Linked DNA regions of Homo sapiens: regions 1, 3 and 4 are each linked to region 2. Evidence: promoter capture Hi-C in human tissues and cell types (Jung and others, 2019). All regions are on one chromosome and are shown on one strand. Each heading gives the region's core, a stretch centred on a gene start or on the middle of the fragment in contact. The rest is flanking DNA. Distances are from core to core; before and after follow the strand shown. Region 1 has its middle 50 kb from the start of MED9. Region 2 holds the start of PEMT (phosphatidylethanolamine N-methyltransferase). Region 3 has its middle 29 kb from the start of MED9. Region 4 has its middle 77 kb from the start of MED9.

What was found. Contacts are between HindIII fragments. The study calls those that stand out against the background at their distance.
Region 1: a fragment that was not itself captured here is called in contact with the fragment with the promoter of PEMT in region 2 in 3 of the 25 tissues and cell types used here (bladder, dorsolateral prefrontal cortex and mesendoderm cells).
Region 3: a contact is called between a fragment that was not itself captured here and the fragment with the promoter of PEMT in region 2, in 1 of the 25 tissues and cell types used here (IMR-90 fibroblasts).
Region 4: a fragment that was not itself captured here is called in contact with the fragment with the promoter of PEMT in region 2 in 1 of the 25 tissues and cell types used here (lymphoblastoid cells).

Annotation. Positions count from the first base shown.
Region 1 is chr17:17,424,628-17,428,552 of GRCh38, forward strand. No RefSeq gene overlaps it. Among named protein-coding and RNA genes, the nearest start is that of MED9, 50 kb to the right of the region's middle. RefSeq lists a silencer at 75-275. The HindIII fragment of the contact is 4,494 bases long and covers 1-3,850 here.
Region 2 is chr17:17,590,450-17,594,052 of GRCh38, forward strand. It overlaps PEMT (phosphatidylethanolamine N-methyltransferase), which reads right to left and starts at 1,259. Exons shown (of 7, transcript NM_148172.3): 1 at 1,082-1,259. The coding sequence starts at 1,177. RefSeq lists enhancers at 704-1,445, 1,011-1,400. The HindIII fragment of the contact is 9,919 bases long and covers 1-3,603 here.
Region 3 is chr17:17,445,947-17,449,750 of GRCh38, forward strand. No RefSeq gene overlaps it. Among named protein-coding and RNA genes, the nearest start is that of MED9, 29 kb to the right of the region's middle. RefSeq lists an enhancer at 1-1,046. The HindIII fragment of the contact is 3,984 bases long and covers 326-3,804 here.
Region 4 is chr17:17,397,871-17,401,597 of GRCh38, forward strand. No RefSeq gene overlaps it. Among named protein-coding and RNA genes, the nearest start is that of MED9, 77 kb to the right of the region's middle. The HindIII fragment of the contact is 4,101 bases long and covers 1-3,595 here.

The DNA.
Region 1 (3,925 bases), core at 354-2,853, 170 kb before region 2:
TTTCCAGATCCCCCCATGGCTGCCCATGGACCAATTGGCACTCACTTCCTCCCTCTGAGACCCATAAAACCCCCAGACTCAGCCAGAGCTGAGCAGATGTTGGGAAAACCAGCTGCAGAGAGGAGCTACCCATTCCAGGGTCTCCTCTCTGCTGAGAGCTTCAGAGAACGATGGGATGACCTGCCTGCAGAAGGAGCTACCCATTCCAGGGCCTCCTCTGAGCTAGTCTATCACTCAATAAAGCTCCTCTTCACCTTGCTCACTCTCCACTTGTCCACATACCTCATTCCTCCTGGATGTGGGACAAGAACTTGGGACCTGTTGAATGGCAGGTCTGAAAGGTCTATAACACAAACAGAGCTGAAACATGCCCCTTGTTTGTGACATTGCAGGTGAGGAGCAGGAGAGAAGAGCTGTAATCCTTCAGAGATCCCAGACCTGGGAGCTCCCTGAGCCAGGGCTGTGCCTCTCTCTTTGGGATGCTGCAGTTCCTGGAGTCTCCAAGCTTCCAGGCACCACTGTGTCCCCTGGCGGCAGCTATGGAAGCTACTTGCATTGCACCTGATCCAGCTGCAGCCTCACAGAGAGCCTGTACCCATGCTGGCACCTGGAGTTGCCCGCCCTGCTGCAGCAGCCGGCGTGCCTGTGTGCAGTGACCAGACCCCATGCTCATTCACTCACGCACCCCTCACCGCCCCATGCCTGGCTTGCCCTTGCCAGGCATGGGATCCAGGCTAGGAACATGAGCCGGCATAGCCTGCCAGGCCAAGTGGGCAGAATGAGCCCAGAGGGTCCAAGCAAAACTCGGGCAAAAGGTACCACTGACCACAGAGGTTTCTGGCTAGAAAAGCAACACCTCAAGGATCCCATAACATTTTGGAGGGCTTGTCCAGGATCTGCAGAAGGGTGAGTAAAAGCAGATCTACTCTTTTTATTTTATTTTATTTTTATTATACTTTAAGTTTTAGGGTACATGTGCGCAGATCTACTCTTTCTGTCCTTTTTTCAAAGTCTCTAAACTCCACAATAGTCAAAATGAAAGAAAAATACCAGGCCTCTATCAGCCAGTTAAGAGCAACTAGTGTGGCTGCCAGACTTAGGACACGGAGGACAGGCTTGCTGGGGAGGACACTGGCAACCCTCCATTACCCTCAGATGTTGGGAATGTTGGCTTTGTTCCAAACCAGTTTTCTTTCACAGAGGTCTAGCCATTGTGTGGGACCAGAAGGAGGTCCTGAGGCAACTGAGGGTATCTGGCCAAGGCTACCCTTTGGCCTAATTCAAAGGCCCGTGGACTAACTCCAGTCCCTGACCACCTGTTACAGTGTCAGCACTAGGACCTCCGGTCTTTCCTAACATTCTTTCTTTCTTTCAGGATATCAAGGTTCCTATTTCTTCTTTATGTACCATGTTAAATGTTAAGGATGTTGCCAGGCACAGTGGCTTATGTCTGTGCCAGCACTTTGGGAGGCTGAGGTGGGTGGATCACCTGAGGTCAGGAGTTCGAGACCAGCCTGGCCAACATGGCAAAACCCTGTGTCTACTACAAATACAAAAAAATTAGCCCAGCGTGGTGGTGCCTGTAATCCCAGCTACTCAGGAGGCTGAGGCAGGAGAATCGCTTGAACCCGGGAGGCAAAGGTTGCAGTGAGCTGAGACTGTGGCACTGCACTCCAGCCCAGGTGACAGAGCAGGACTCTGTCTCAAAAAAAAAAAATAAATGTTAAGGATGTTGTTGCAAACCAGAGCTAGTACTGGATTGAATGAGCATTTGGCTTAGTCATCAGAAGTCTAAAATGGAAGGTTAAGAGTAGCACAGAAGCCAAGTGTGCCTTGGTATCTGTACATAAATTTGTGGCAAAAATGTTCTTGTCATTTCCTTGGGTGATAACTTAGTGCCAAGCACCTTGAGGCACAGAAAAGAAGCACGGCCTCAGGAAGGAAGCCTTTCTGTAAACGCGGGGGCAAATGGTCCATGGTCCCATATGTGCAGGCCTTCTTTGCCTTGCAGGGTAGCCTGGACCTTTGCTGATGTAGGATTGATTCAGCCCTCCTACTGGCCATCTCAGGAGAGGCTGCAAGGGGCAATACCAGGGAAGCAAACCCCAGAAGTACCTCCAGCAGGAGAATCAACCCCCTCTGCTCCTCCCTATCCAGGTTATCTCTCAAGCTTGCCCCAGCCTAGGAATCCTCGTTTTAGGCAGGTCCCAGTCTCAACTGCCCCTACAACAGATGCCTGGTGAATATGGCCCCATTGAGGTCCAGGTCCCCTTTTCTCTACTAGACTTAAGGCAAATTAAGGCAGATCTTGGCAAGTTTTCAGGCAGCCCTGACAGGGATATAGAGGCTTTCCAGAACTTAATCAAAATATTTGAGCTCTCCTGGAAGGATGTCATGTTACTTTTGAATCAATCCCTGACCACCACTGGAAAGCAGGCCACCCTGCAAGTAGTAGAGAATTTGGGGGATGAGCTTTGTATCTTATATAGGGCCAAGGAAGGGAATGAGACTTATATGATTGGAAAAATAGCAGCACCACTGGAGGACCCTAAATGGGACCCTAAGGATGAAATGGGAGAATGGAGGGGGAAACACATTCAGGTGTACATACTGGAGGGCTTGTGAAGAACTAGGACTAAGCCTCTCAATTCCTCCAAGATCGCCATGATAGATCAGGGATTAGATGAGAATCCCACTGCCTTCCGGAAAGGCTAAGAGGGGCTTTGGTAAAGCACACCTCTCTAGCTCCTGATTCAGTCGAGGGACAGCTAATCCTAAAGGACAAGTTTATCACAAAGGTGGCCTCCGGATATCAGGAAGAAGCTACAGAAACAGGCTATAGGACGAGATAGTACTTTAGAGAACCTCCTAAAAGTGGCCACCTCAGTCTTTTACAATAGGGACCAGAAGGAAGTCCAAAAAAGAGAAAGGCAATACAAGAAAAAAGCAGAGCCTCTAAAAGCCACCTTGCAGGCTCACAAACCTCAGAGTCCCCAAGATGCATGACCGTGAGGGGCGTCTCAGGTCTTTCCTCCACCATGTCAAGAGTCATGGTAAAAATCACTGTATTATCTGCCCCTCCATGAGTTCAAAAGCTAGAAGTATTGAAGTATTGGCCATTTGGCGTGGCTAAGGTCAGGTAATAAGAGATTTAAAAGGACTTCTTAAAGAGGAGCCCTATGGTTAAAAGTCAACTTTTGGGAGGCCAAGGTGGGCGGATCATGAGGTCAAGAGATTGAGACCATCCTGGCCAACATGCTGAAACCCAGTCTCTACTAAAAGTACAAAAATTAGCCAGGGATGGTGGCACACACCTGTAGTCCCAGCTACTCAGGAGGCTGAGGCAGGAGAATCGCTTGAACCCAGAAGGCAGAGGTTGCAGTGAGCCGAGATCGCACCACGGTACTCCAGCCTGGATGACAGAGCAAGACTCTGTCTCAAAAAAAAAAAAAAAAAAAAAAGATGGGTATCCAAGCTGCAAGCTATAGGTCAGGTTAATTAAAGATGGATGTCCATGCTATAAGTATATTTAAAAGGCTTTTGTTGTCTTTTCTCTTCATGGATCTTGTTTTTCTGGAAAAAGGTTTTTTTCTTCTCAGTCGACTGAATTATTTTTCTTCATTTTTGTCTTGCCACTCTTAATGCACACATGAGAGGCCCCATGAGAACTTCTGACGGCTGGGACTCCTTGGGAAAATGGAGGAGGCGCCATGGACCCTGTTTTGGGAAAAACCTATTTTCCTCACAGAACTCCAGGGATTAGAAGCAGATGCATCCCTCTCAAAATTTGTTTTTGTCTTCCACCTAGGCCTACCTATTAGGGCTTAGAAACTGCACGTTTTCCTAGCCCTGGTTCTTGAAGGACTCCACCCCAAGGCCAGTAATCCAACTAGGAGATTGGCAAATCCAATTAGGAGATTGGCAA
Region 2 (3,603 bases), core at 9-2,508:
TTCAATCCCGCCTTCCCATCAGCTACTCTTCAAAACACTAACTGGTATTAGCTCCTTCAGAGAACTCTCTGGCTTTCCAGGCCTACAATCTCCCTCCCTAGAATGAAAGCTCAGTGACAGAAGTGCCCTTAAACTTCTGAGTGACACGAGGCCCTCAGCCGGCCCTGAATCAATACTGGCTGGATCAGTGAGTGAATAAATGCACATGTGAGTAAGGAATGAAGGGAGCGAAAGAACTGGATTAGAAGCTGCTTGGGGCAGAGATGTGCCTTACAGGCTTCATGAAGAGTGGGTGATGAAAAAGGTAAATGGAGCATCTAAGAGGAAGCTTTGATAGAAGGGAGAATGCAAGAGAGGTTGGAAATTGGAATCCATTGGAATTGGGAGCCTGGGGAGATGCCAGGACAGGCACTCTCTGGCCTAGGACTCTGCAGAGGGCAGCCTCAGCAGGCAAGCCAGGCCCCCAGCTTCTGGGGCCGGTCGCACCCATTATGGCCCCGAAACGGCTGGGTGGTGGTCTGCAGCCTGCCCAGGGCCGGCTGGGAGACAGGCAGGGTCCCCACCACTCTCTTGCCTCTGGGCAAAAGCTGGCCTCCTGACCCTGGGGGATGGACGGGAGCAGGGGCCACACAACACACTCCCAAACATATAATCGGCCTCCTTCACCCTCGCCCACGCTCAGTCACACACAGCCTCGGTCATACACACTCACACTCACTCTCCGGCACACTCTCAGAGCATCACATAATTTCAGTGAGACACAATCCCAAAGACTAACACGGACAACCTCTGAGTCTCACACAATCTCAGGGCCACACACAGGCACACAATCAGACGAGCTCAGGAACGCCCCCGTCTCTGACACACGCAATCTGAGGTTTACACGCGCGCGCACACGCACACACACAGACACCAGCCGGCGCTCCCGCACGCGGCTCCCCCACCCCCGCCACGCCACGCCCCCATTGCCTGGGAACTGGCGGCCCCGCCCCGCAGCGTTTGAGGCGCCGCAAGCCTTCACGCCCCTCGGGCCTTGCAGATCCCTCTCCCAGTTTCCGCGGCGGTCCGGTGCGGTCAGTACCTGTCTAAAATCAATATTGCCGAGGCCTCCGCAGCAGTCAGGCCCTGCCACCGAGCTGTTCGTTACCTCGGCTCCCGGGTTCCCAGATCTCTTCATCCGGGGGCCGCCTCAGGAGGCACCACGCGGGCCCCGCTGCAGCCACGCGCCCCCGGAACCGGACCTATAGAGCCGGGTAAGTGCCGCCAGTCGGGGCGCTTTCCCGGTGACCCCCAACATATTCCGGCCTTCTGGGAAATGTAGTTCCCCGTCACCGCGAAGTGCCTCTTTATCTGGGGGCTCGCGACAGCGTCTAGAGGAGCCGAGAACTACAAGTCCCAGTGTGTTTCGCCGCAGAGCCTGCCGGTTCCGCTGCAGCTACGTAGCAGTATCCCCTTGGATCCGGCCTCCCGCCCAGTGCCTTTGGTCGCCGGCTGCCGCACCCGAGCCTGTAACTGACCTGGCGTCCCTGCCCTTGCCTGGCGGCGGTGGGGCTAGAGGCCGGGGGCCGCGGGTCGTAGCTATAAGCAGCTTCCCGCGCAGCCTCCTGCGGACTTGGACTTGGCCCGGGTCACACACGCCCAGGGCCCCACACGCCCAGGGCCCCACGCCCTCTTCTGAAATTCGCTTTACTCTGGGGGCGGTGCGCGACGAGCACTGCCTAGAGCTTCCCGCCCCCGCGGCGCCCAGGCTCTTTAGCTCGGCCAAAGACCCCTCCTCCACTCATTTTTTCCTTCATTCATTCTCTCATTCACTCTCGAGTATTTTCTGAACCAGACTGTGCGCTGAGGGTACGGTAGGGAACAACACAGAGTCCCCCGCCCTCGCTTCCTCCTGACTGAGATAAAAGACAAAATGTGAATAAAGGGTTATAATATGGATGAGTACTGTGGTGGAAAAAACGGGGTGGGTCAAATGGTACGGAAGGATGCTGTCTTAGAATGTGCAGGGGAGGTGCCAGATGTGCCAAGTGTGAGGGCAGGGCAAACAAGGCAAGACGAATGGTATGTACAAAGGCCTGGAGACAGGACGGGCACCTAAGGAACAGAGAAAAGACCGGTGAGCTGTGGAGTAGTGATGGAGGGGGTCAAATGGAGAAGAGTTTAGACGATCGGGTCCCAGAAGAACCCCTTTTGTAGGCCGGGTGTGGTGGCTCATGCCTGTAATCCCAGCACTTTGGGAGGCCGAGGTGGGCGGATCACCAGAGGTCGGCAGTTCGAGACCAGCGTGACTAACACGGTGAAACCCCGTCTCTATTAAAAATACAAAAAATAGCCGGGTGTGGTGCGCGCACCTGTAATCCCAGCTACTCAGGAGGCTGAGGCAGGAGAATCGCTTGAACCCAGGAGGTGGAGGTTGCAGTGAGCGGAGATGGTGCCATTGCATGCCAGCCTGCGCGACAGAGCGAGACTCCCTCTCAAAAAAGAAAAAAGCCCTTTTGTAGCCAGGTGTTATGTAATATGGGGAAATAGACTGAGAGGTTCCAAGATTTGCTCAGTCACCCAGACTGCTGGGGGCCCAGACAGGACTTCTGCAGTCAGCTGCTTCCTGCTCCAGATGGCCCGTTTCTCTCCACCTTGGCCCACAGCACCTACCAGTGTTGAGCATTTACTGAGCAGCCACTGTGTGCTGCTTTAGAGGTAGTCCCAATCTTCACAACATCGCTAGGATGGGGCAGGCCAACCGAGGAGACAGGAAAGACACTGGCTTTGGAGCATGCACTATCTCTGTGACTGAGCCCACCTTCATTTTCCTCAAAAGTAAAAGGGAAATACATGTTGGTAAAACTCATCACCCAGGAACTGGCCTGTGGGAAGTGCTCAGTAGGCATTGGCCCCCGGCAGGGCTGGGGACACAGGCTCAGGGCTGGTTCTCTGACTTACCACTGTTACTAATGAGTGTCGGGACCCTTTCCCTGCTCAGTGTCCAGGCAGAGCTGCTAGAGGCAGAGCCATTTCTGAAGGAGCCCCCCGCAGCGGGAGGGCTTCTAGCAAGTCTTTCCCCTCCGCCTACCACACATCCACTTCACTGATGTTCCAGTCTTCTGACCTAACTGGTCACTCCTGTTTTGTTAAGCCCAGAAAACAAATTTTTGTGCGTTTGCTTTATCTGAGAACAAAGTAAGGCAACCGTAAGAGGTCACACCAGAACTGATGCAGTCCGATCCTCTACTCCAGCCTACCCAACCTGGGCCACCCTTCCTCTGTGAAAAGCAAACACCCCACCCAGGAGACAGACTTGCAGCTTGAAACAAGTCAGATAAAAACCTCCTGCCTGGCTCACACCTGGAATCCCAGCACTTTGGGAGGCCGAGGCAGGCGGATCATGAGGTCAGGAGTTCAAGACCAGCCTGACCAACACAGTGAAACCCCGTCTCCACTAAAAATACAAAAATTAGCTAGGCATGGTGGTGCACACTTGTAATCCCAGCTACTCAGGAGGCTGAGTCAGGAGAATTGCTTGAACCCAGGAGGTGGAGGCTGCAGTGAGCCGAGATCGCGCCACTGCACTCCAGCCTGGGCCAGGCTGGGCATGGTGGCTCACGC
Region 3 (3,804 bases), core at 1,068-3,567, 140 kb before region 2:
TTTTGCGGAGCTGGTCTCCGCCCCTTCTGTGACTGCCACCCACTGGGCCAGTTCTGCCTAATAGCAAAGAACACTGCTCACCAATCTTCTTTCCTTTCCTTCCTTCCCTTTTGCCCATAAGTCACCGATGGATGGACTGGACCCATGGGCAACGTCTGTGGATGACGCTGTGTTTGTCCTTCCACAGGGCGTGGGGCTCCTCCACCCTGCATCAGGCACAAGCCTGCTTTTGGGGAAAGTCCCACCATCTCATTTTCCCTTGCCTAAAATAGCTACTTCCTTTATGGGGAATGCAGTGTGGTGGGGAGCAATGAAAGGGATGAGGTAAGTCATCCACAGATGCCTGGTTTGGAATCATTCCTGAAAAGGTCAGCGTTTTCATCAGCCAAACAGGAGGCAGGGCACTTCCGGCTGGTCATTAACCAAGGCAAACAGCGTGGCGGGGAAAGTCAAAGCCATAGCCAACCACAAACAAACAAGTCATGTATCCTCTGTGGAGGTGACTTTCTTCTGAAGGAATGTGTGGTTGTTTGCAGATAATATCAAATCCATTTCACGTCAGATCAGGATGACAGACAGCCAGAGGCTATTGGGGTCTCACATTAAATGGCTCTTTTATGGTAATAAATTGTTTCCTTTTCACGGTTGCATGAGCAATCTCAAGTTTTATTTTGAGGTGTCAACTGCCCTCAGGGACACCTGCCACAGGTGGGATCTTGGGTCCTGGCCACCATATGTGAGAGAGCAGACCCTGGCTGAGTCACTCAGCTGTGGTCGCATCACCTCTGTCCCTGCCCCACTGCTCAGCCCCATGCAGGCTGGCAGGGGAGGCCTCCTCTCCCCCATGGGGTCTCCCTTTCTTCCTCTCACACTGATCATTGGAAAGAGTGGCTTGCATTTGCCACAGTGCTGAGGGCTGTCAGTCTTCACAGCTGAGGAAATGACATGATTTGTTGGGAGCCACTTGAAATAACCAGTTCCCCAGCTGGTCTCGCTGTCCCTGTGCTGGCAGCCCTGCTGACGTGGGGCCTGGCTAGACAGAGGTGGGCCTTCTGTGCCCTCACCTGGGCCATCCCCACCATGCGGTGAGGTTGGGTTGCATCCAGCCAGGAGGCAGCTGGCAGGGCCCTGTGGCTTGTCTGAGGACCCAAGGGGGAACTTATCAGAGGGCAAGAGAGAAAGAGGGCTGAGGGGTGGTATGTAAGAGGGAGGGGGCTAGGAGAGTGTAGATGCTTCCTGAAAGGTCACGGATTCTATTGGAATTCCCAGCCAAACTTCAGGACTGGGAAACACCCTTCTTAGGAGGTGGCTAGGGGCTCAGGCTGGCTTGGCTCATTCCTGGCCTGCAGGCCTTGCTCCTGAGCACAGGGCAGGGGCTGCCGGCCCCGGTTCAGAATGGGATCTGAAAGCTGCCTGGAAAGAATGGGCCTCTGGATCAGGATCACCAGGGTGGGACCTGGATATTTCCCATAGTCACCAGACGTGTTGCTCAGAGGGAGGTTCCTGGCCAGCAGCTTTGTTGGCATCACCTGGGAGCTTGTTGGAAATGCAGAACCTTGAGCTCTGCCCAGACTTACTCCCTCAGAATCTGCATGGTAAATGATCTCTGCTGACCCGGGCACTGGGGTTCAAGGACCTCGGCCCTGCCAAATCTGAAATCCAGAGCTAGGCCAAAGTACACTTGTGGAATCAGGATGCTGAATCTAAGTTAAATGCAGAAGCATCCTTTGAGCAAAGGTGGTGGAGTGGGCTGAATTATGACCCTCTCAAAAGATGTCCATGTCTCAGAAATGCAGAATGTGACCTTATTTGGAAACAGAGTCTTTGCAGATACAATTAAGATCTTGAGGTGAAATCACCCTGAATCATCCAAGTGGGTCCTAAATCCAATGACAAGTGTCCTTGTAAGAGAAGAGGAGAAGACACAGAGACACAGGCAAGAAGACCACGCAAAGACAGAGACAGAGATTGGAGTGATGTGGCCACAAGCCAAGAAACACCTGGAGCCACCAGAAGCTGGAGGAGGTAGGAAAGATCCTCCCCCCAAGCTTTTAGAGCGCAAACCCCTGCAGAAACCTTGGTTTTGGACTTCTGGCTTCCAGAACAGTGAGACATTACATTTGTGTTGTTGTAATGATTACAGCAACCACAGGAAACTAAAGCAGGTAGCCTTTTCAGACTCTGCAGAGGAAAAAAAAGCATGGCCAAAGTTACCCAAGAAAGAGTTGATGACCCCACCAGTCCCCAGTCACAGCAGTCTTAGCTTTGTTCCCAGAATTAGCTGACCTCCTCCACCCCATTTCCTTATTCCTTTTTAATGCTCCACAAAACCCAAGGACAGTCGAGACCTGGTCCTGCGTGGCTGCCTGATCACCAGACCGTCAAAAGCTGCCGGCTCCTTCATGCTCCCAAACGTGACTATTTTATTTACTCTTAACTTCATCTTGTTTGGAAATTATTTAAAGCAGTTTCAATGGAGTCAAACTGAGTCATATTTTAACTGCTTAAGTACCACTTAAAAACAGACTTTATGAGTTCACTCGGATTAAGAAACAAAAAAGGAAATAAAAGAAAAATGAAATAAAATAAAAAAGAATAAAAACAGATGTCAACAAGTCCTTTGGCAAATGATCCCACAATGGCTTCATTTTCTGAGCTTAGATGGCGCTAGATGAGGTTAATTTCAAACGAGGTATACTAGTACTAGATTCGAATGGACAGAAACTCTGAAGGTTCTGGGATCGTTTTCCTTTTAGAAAGTTTTCAGGATTCAAAGATAAAGATTCAGGGCAGTGGTTCTCAACTTTGACTCACACTAGAATCATTTGGGGAGCTTAAAAAGAACAGCCACATTCCAGACTCTCCCCAGATCAGGTAAGTCAGAATCTTGGCGGGTAAAGCCCACCCTGGGGCTCCATGGAACCCCTGAGCCAGACCCTGCACCCAGCTTCGCACTGACCTCCACATGCTGCAGGGTGTAGTGTGGTCATGTGCCCAGGGCTGGCCAATCAGATGTGCTCACCCTGAGCTCAGCTGTGAAGGGGCAGGTACCATCCGGGATCCATTCTGCCAGGCATGATAACAGGCAGTGCCAGTGTGGACAGTGGTGGGATAAGCTGTGGGCTGGCACCCCATCGTACAGATGAGGACACAGCTCAGAGGGATCCAGAGACTTGTCCAAAGTCCCATAACTAAGGACTGGCAGAGCTGGGATTTGAACCAGCCCCTCTGGCTGCAACGCCTGCCACCTTTTCCTCCCTTGAAACAGCTCCATGCCTTAATTAGGGGCAGTGTTGGCCAGGCGCGGTGGCTCATGCCTGTAATCCCAGCACTTTGAGAGGCCGAAGCGGGCGGATCACCTGAGGTCAGGAGTTCGAGACCAGCCTGGCCAACATGGTGAAACCCTGTCTCTACCAAAAATACAAAAATTAGCTGGGTGTGATGGCAGGAGCCTGTAATCCCAGCTACTCAGGAAGCTGAGGCAGGAGAATTGCTTGAACCTGGGAGGTGGAAGGTGCGGTGAGCAGAGATGGTGCCACTGCACTCTAGCCTCGGTCACAAGAGCAAAACTCCATCTCAAAAAAAAAAAAAAAAAAAAATTAGGGGCAGTGTTCTGGACTCTGGCTTTCAGGCCTAGCTCTCTGATTCTCCCAGCACATCCATGAGCAACCAAACATGCCTTCTGCTTTTTTTCAAAGTTAATTTTGTTATTGAAGTATCAGATACATACAGAAAAGATCACAGATCCTAAGTGTGCAGTTCAATGAAGTTTGACAAAGCAAACACACTCATGTAATCAGAACC
Region 4 (3,727 bases), core at 295-2,794, 190 kb before region 2:
GCTGGTTCCGTGGCCTTCCAGAGCACTTCCCAAAAGGTACCACTCATGGTCCTGCCTCAATGACTTTGCATTGGCTGTTCCATCCCCAGCGATACTTTTCCACCAGAGAGATGCCTGACCTCATTCTTGCCCTTGTGTTCAGAACCACAAAACACTGTATATTGTAAAAATGTCCCGTTTGCTTATGCCTGAGTGAATGGGTTTCTGCTGCTAACCCCCTGACCAGGCACAGAGCAGTGGTCTTTGCAAGGATGGGCCTGGGGCCTTTGGGTCATTCCTCCTGAGAAATGCTGCTCAGGCCTTTGACCAAGACACAGGAAAAAGGGAGCAGAGATGCAAACACAGATATGCAGCAACCACTCTGCCCAGATTCACCTCGGCTTCCCCCTTGGCACTTGCTATTTTCACAGCTCTCCAAGGCCATTAGTGACAACTGTGCCCTAAGTAGGTCACAGCGATTATCCCCCTTTTAGGGGCAATCATCATCATCATTGTGAGGCCGCAGGTTGGTGTTTAGTGTCCTGCTGTTCCACGAACTACTTGGACACTTGACAGCACAAAGCCCTTCAGAGAGGCCAGGGGCAGCAATCTGCTCTTTCCTTTTTCCAGAAGGAACAGAGGTTGAGAGAGGGTAAATGAACCCCCTGCCCTGCCAAGAAGAGTGTCAAGTGGGCTTTGGGGAGGGGATGAGTCCCCCTCAGACACTGTGAAAAAAAGGATGGTGTCCTCTGTGCCCAGGATCTGGTGTTGGCACCACAGACCACCCCCTTCCTTCAGAGAACGTCTCCTCTGTCCCTCCATGTGGTCCTGGGGAGGCTGCCAGGCCAGCTCACCGCCACCCTCCCTGCAGTGGGGAGCAGCCGGTCCAAATGGGATCATGAGCCACAAAGCACACAGGAAGTTGGAAATCCAGTGGTGCAATCAGAAGCAGAAAAACAAAACCCCCAAATCCAAGTGTCTCAGTGGACCACAAGATAAATTCAAGTTGGCAAGATAAAAAGGAAGGTTTCGCTAAGTGTTATTTAAGAAAAACAAGCAGGCAGGGCTCAAATTGGGAACAGAATGTGTGGGGATAAGCAAAGCTCTTCTTCTTGTACATCCCACAGTTTCCAGAGAGGAGGACAACAAAAATGCCTTGAGCACTTGAGGTGAGGACCTGGAGGAAAGGTTCAAGAGACCAAAGGCTTGCAACCTGGAGCAGAGAAAAGCACAGCCTCGCTCTGAGGCCCGCCCTTAAAGGCTGTGCCCTGGGCCCTGCCAGGCCCCACCCAGGTCTGGCCCTCACTTCCCTCACTGTTACACATTTGCCTTAAATTAAAAGCAGACCTGCACACAGCCACCCACCCGATCCTAGGGGCTGACACCATATTTTATCTGCCATTCTTTTATTTTTTATTTTTTTATATAGGAAAATGGAGACCCAGGAAGATGCACAAACTTGCCCACAGGTCCCAAGGCTGGCTGGGACTCTGTGGGACTTGAAGCCCAATGCTGGAGCCCACGTCCCTCACTGCTACTCCCTGCTGCGGCCCTGACTCACCCCTTCCAGCCTGCCCACTACTCTCAGCCCTTCCAGGCTGCCCACTACCCCGCCTGATGCTGGGTCCTAAGCCTGTGGGCTCCGGCCCAGCCCAGCTGTGCGTGGATCATAGAGTTGAATGGTGGCTCACTGGTCTCCCGCTCCCACCCCTGCCCCCACCCACACACTGCTAGTTTTCCTTCTAGCAGTCAGAGGGACGCTGTTGAAAGTCATCCTCCTTCCTCCCCACAAACCCTCCAGGGCTCCCACCTCCCTCAGGATGAGGCCAGAGTCCTCCCACTAGCCCCCGTGAGTGCTCTGGCCTGGTGGCATGCCTGCTCCCCTTGCTGCCTGCTCATTTCATTCTGGCCACTCACGGTACTGCCTCAGGGCCTTCGCATTGGCTGTACCCTCTCCTGCAATGCTTTTCCACACTACACAGACAGAACTTGCTCCCTCACCTCCTTCAGACTTTGTTCCACTGCAGCATTCTCAGTAAGCCTTCCTCGAGCGCCTTGTGGTAGAGAGGTACAGAAATACCCTCTAGGGTGGGAAGAAAAGCAGCCAGCCTGGGGCCCCAGTCAGGGCCTCAAGATGTGCCCTTATGTTGCTCCGATCCTGCCCTGTCTCAGGGTGTGCCCTGCTCTCAGATGTGCCTGCCGCTGACGACCATTCCCACTCCGACAAGGAGGCTGCAAAGGCTGTAGCACCCAGGGATGAGGATGAAGCATTTTTATTCTTCCCACTGTAAGACGAAGTAGCATGCGTAAGAAGCCACGTTGGCTCATTTCTGCTTGAACCCCTGACTCTGTGACAACGTGCAGCTCTCTGGAAAGATGCTTTGAAGGCAAAGCAGGATGAAGCGCCCGGCCCCGCACGTCTCTTGCCTGAGTCACTTGATTCCTTAAAAGAGAAGAGCTCTAGTCCTTGCCTTTCTGACAGGCTTAATGACGATGCCTCTGCCATCTATAACCAGAGGTGCTCTTACACCCACACCTTGATGGGCTGCTGCTTCAACGTAACTTCTGAGCAAGTCCGATGTGATTTTGCACTTGCTGAACCTCCACCACCTGTATGTAAGCCGTGGGCTTCAACAGAACTGCCCTGAGGCAGTAGATGTGGTCTGGAGTCCTCAGACTCCTGAATGAAATGAACTTTAGTTCTTCGAAAGCTTGATTTTGTTTTCGTTGTCAACACTGGGAAATTGGGCTTAGAGGGGCTTCCAGGGGCCTCTTTGCCCTCCAGCTTTCCTTGCCTCCTCTTGTCTCCTGATTTGCTCTTATGTTTCTCTACCTTCCAGGAACCCGAGTTGCTAAGCTCCTAGCTCCAGCCTGTCCCACCAGCGGGGGCTCCAAGGGGCTCAGGCTTCCCAGAGTCCAGTGCCCACATAGCAGACAAACCCACATCGTGTGCCCGAGTCTCCTGGCCTGGTTTAGGCATGTGATTACACTCATGGGGTCTGTGTCTCTTGCTCGGATTTAACCACATACCCTCCCAACCCGCCAACTAGGTTTCAATGCAAGGGAAGGCCAGATCCCTGTATGTCATGTCTAACCCACACACCCACGTGAGCGCATGTCTGTGCACATGGAGCGTGTGTCTGGGGTCCCGATGGCAGTGTTTACACAGGAACCTCTGTCCAGTGAGCAGGCACACACGCACGTCCTGGGCATCTGGTGCTAGAACTCTCAGGAGTGAGAATGGGGTAAGGGGCAGAGAGTCCTTTACAGTGGGCCACCAGGGCACCCCCACTGGCGGCATGGACCCACCCCCTCAGGGGGCATAGAAAATATCTGGAGCCTAGGTTGAGGGTATGAACGTCCCCAGGGAGAAGGAAGGTCATCAGTGAATGTAGAGTGGGCAGAGTTGCCCCTTCCAGGGGAGTGAGCAAGGGGCACATCCCGTCAGTGCTGGGTCCACCGAGGGCTTGGGGGCTGCCATTAGCCCATGTGGTGCGTTGTGTGAAGGAAGAAAGCGCCCTCTAATGGTGGCTGCAGTCCCAAGGGTTGCAGGGCTTGGCTAGCGGAGCATGGACTGAATGTCAATGAGCACTGCGCCTTTGGCAGGATGCCCTTGGGCAGTGCACAGCCTGTACCGCTGTACAGGGCATCCGTGGGGGAGGCGGGACTTGTGGAGACACATCAGACCAAGGTCAGCTCCAGTGTGAATGGGGGAAGTGAGGGAACCCGAGGGCAGCAAGAGGTGGAG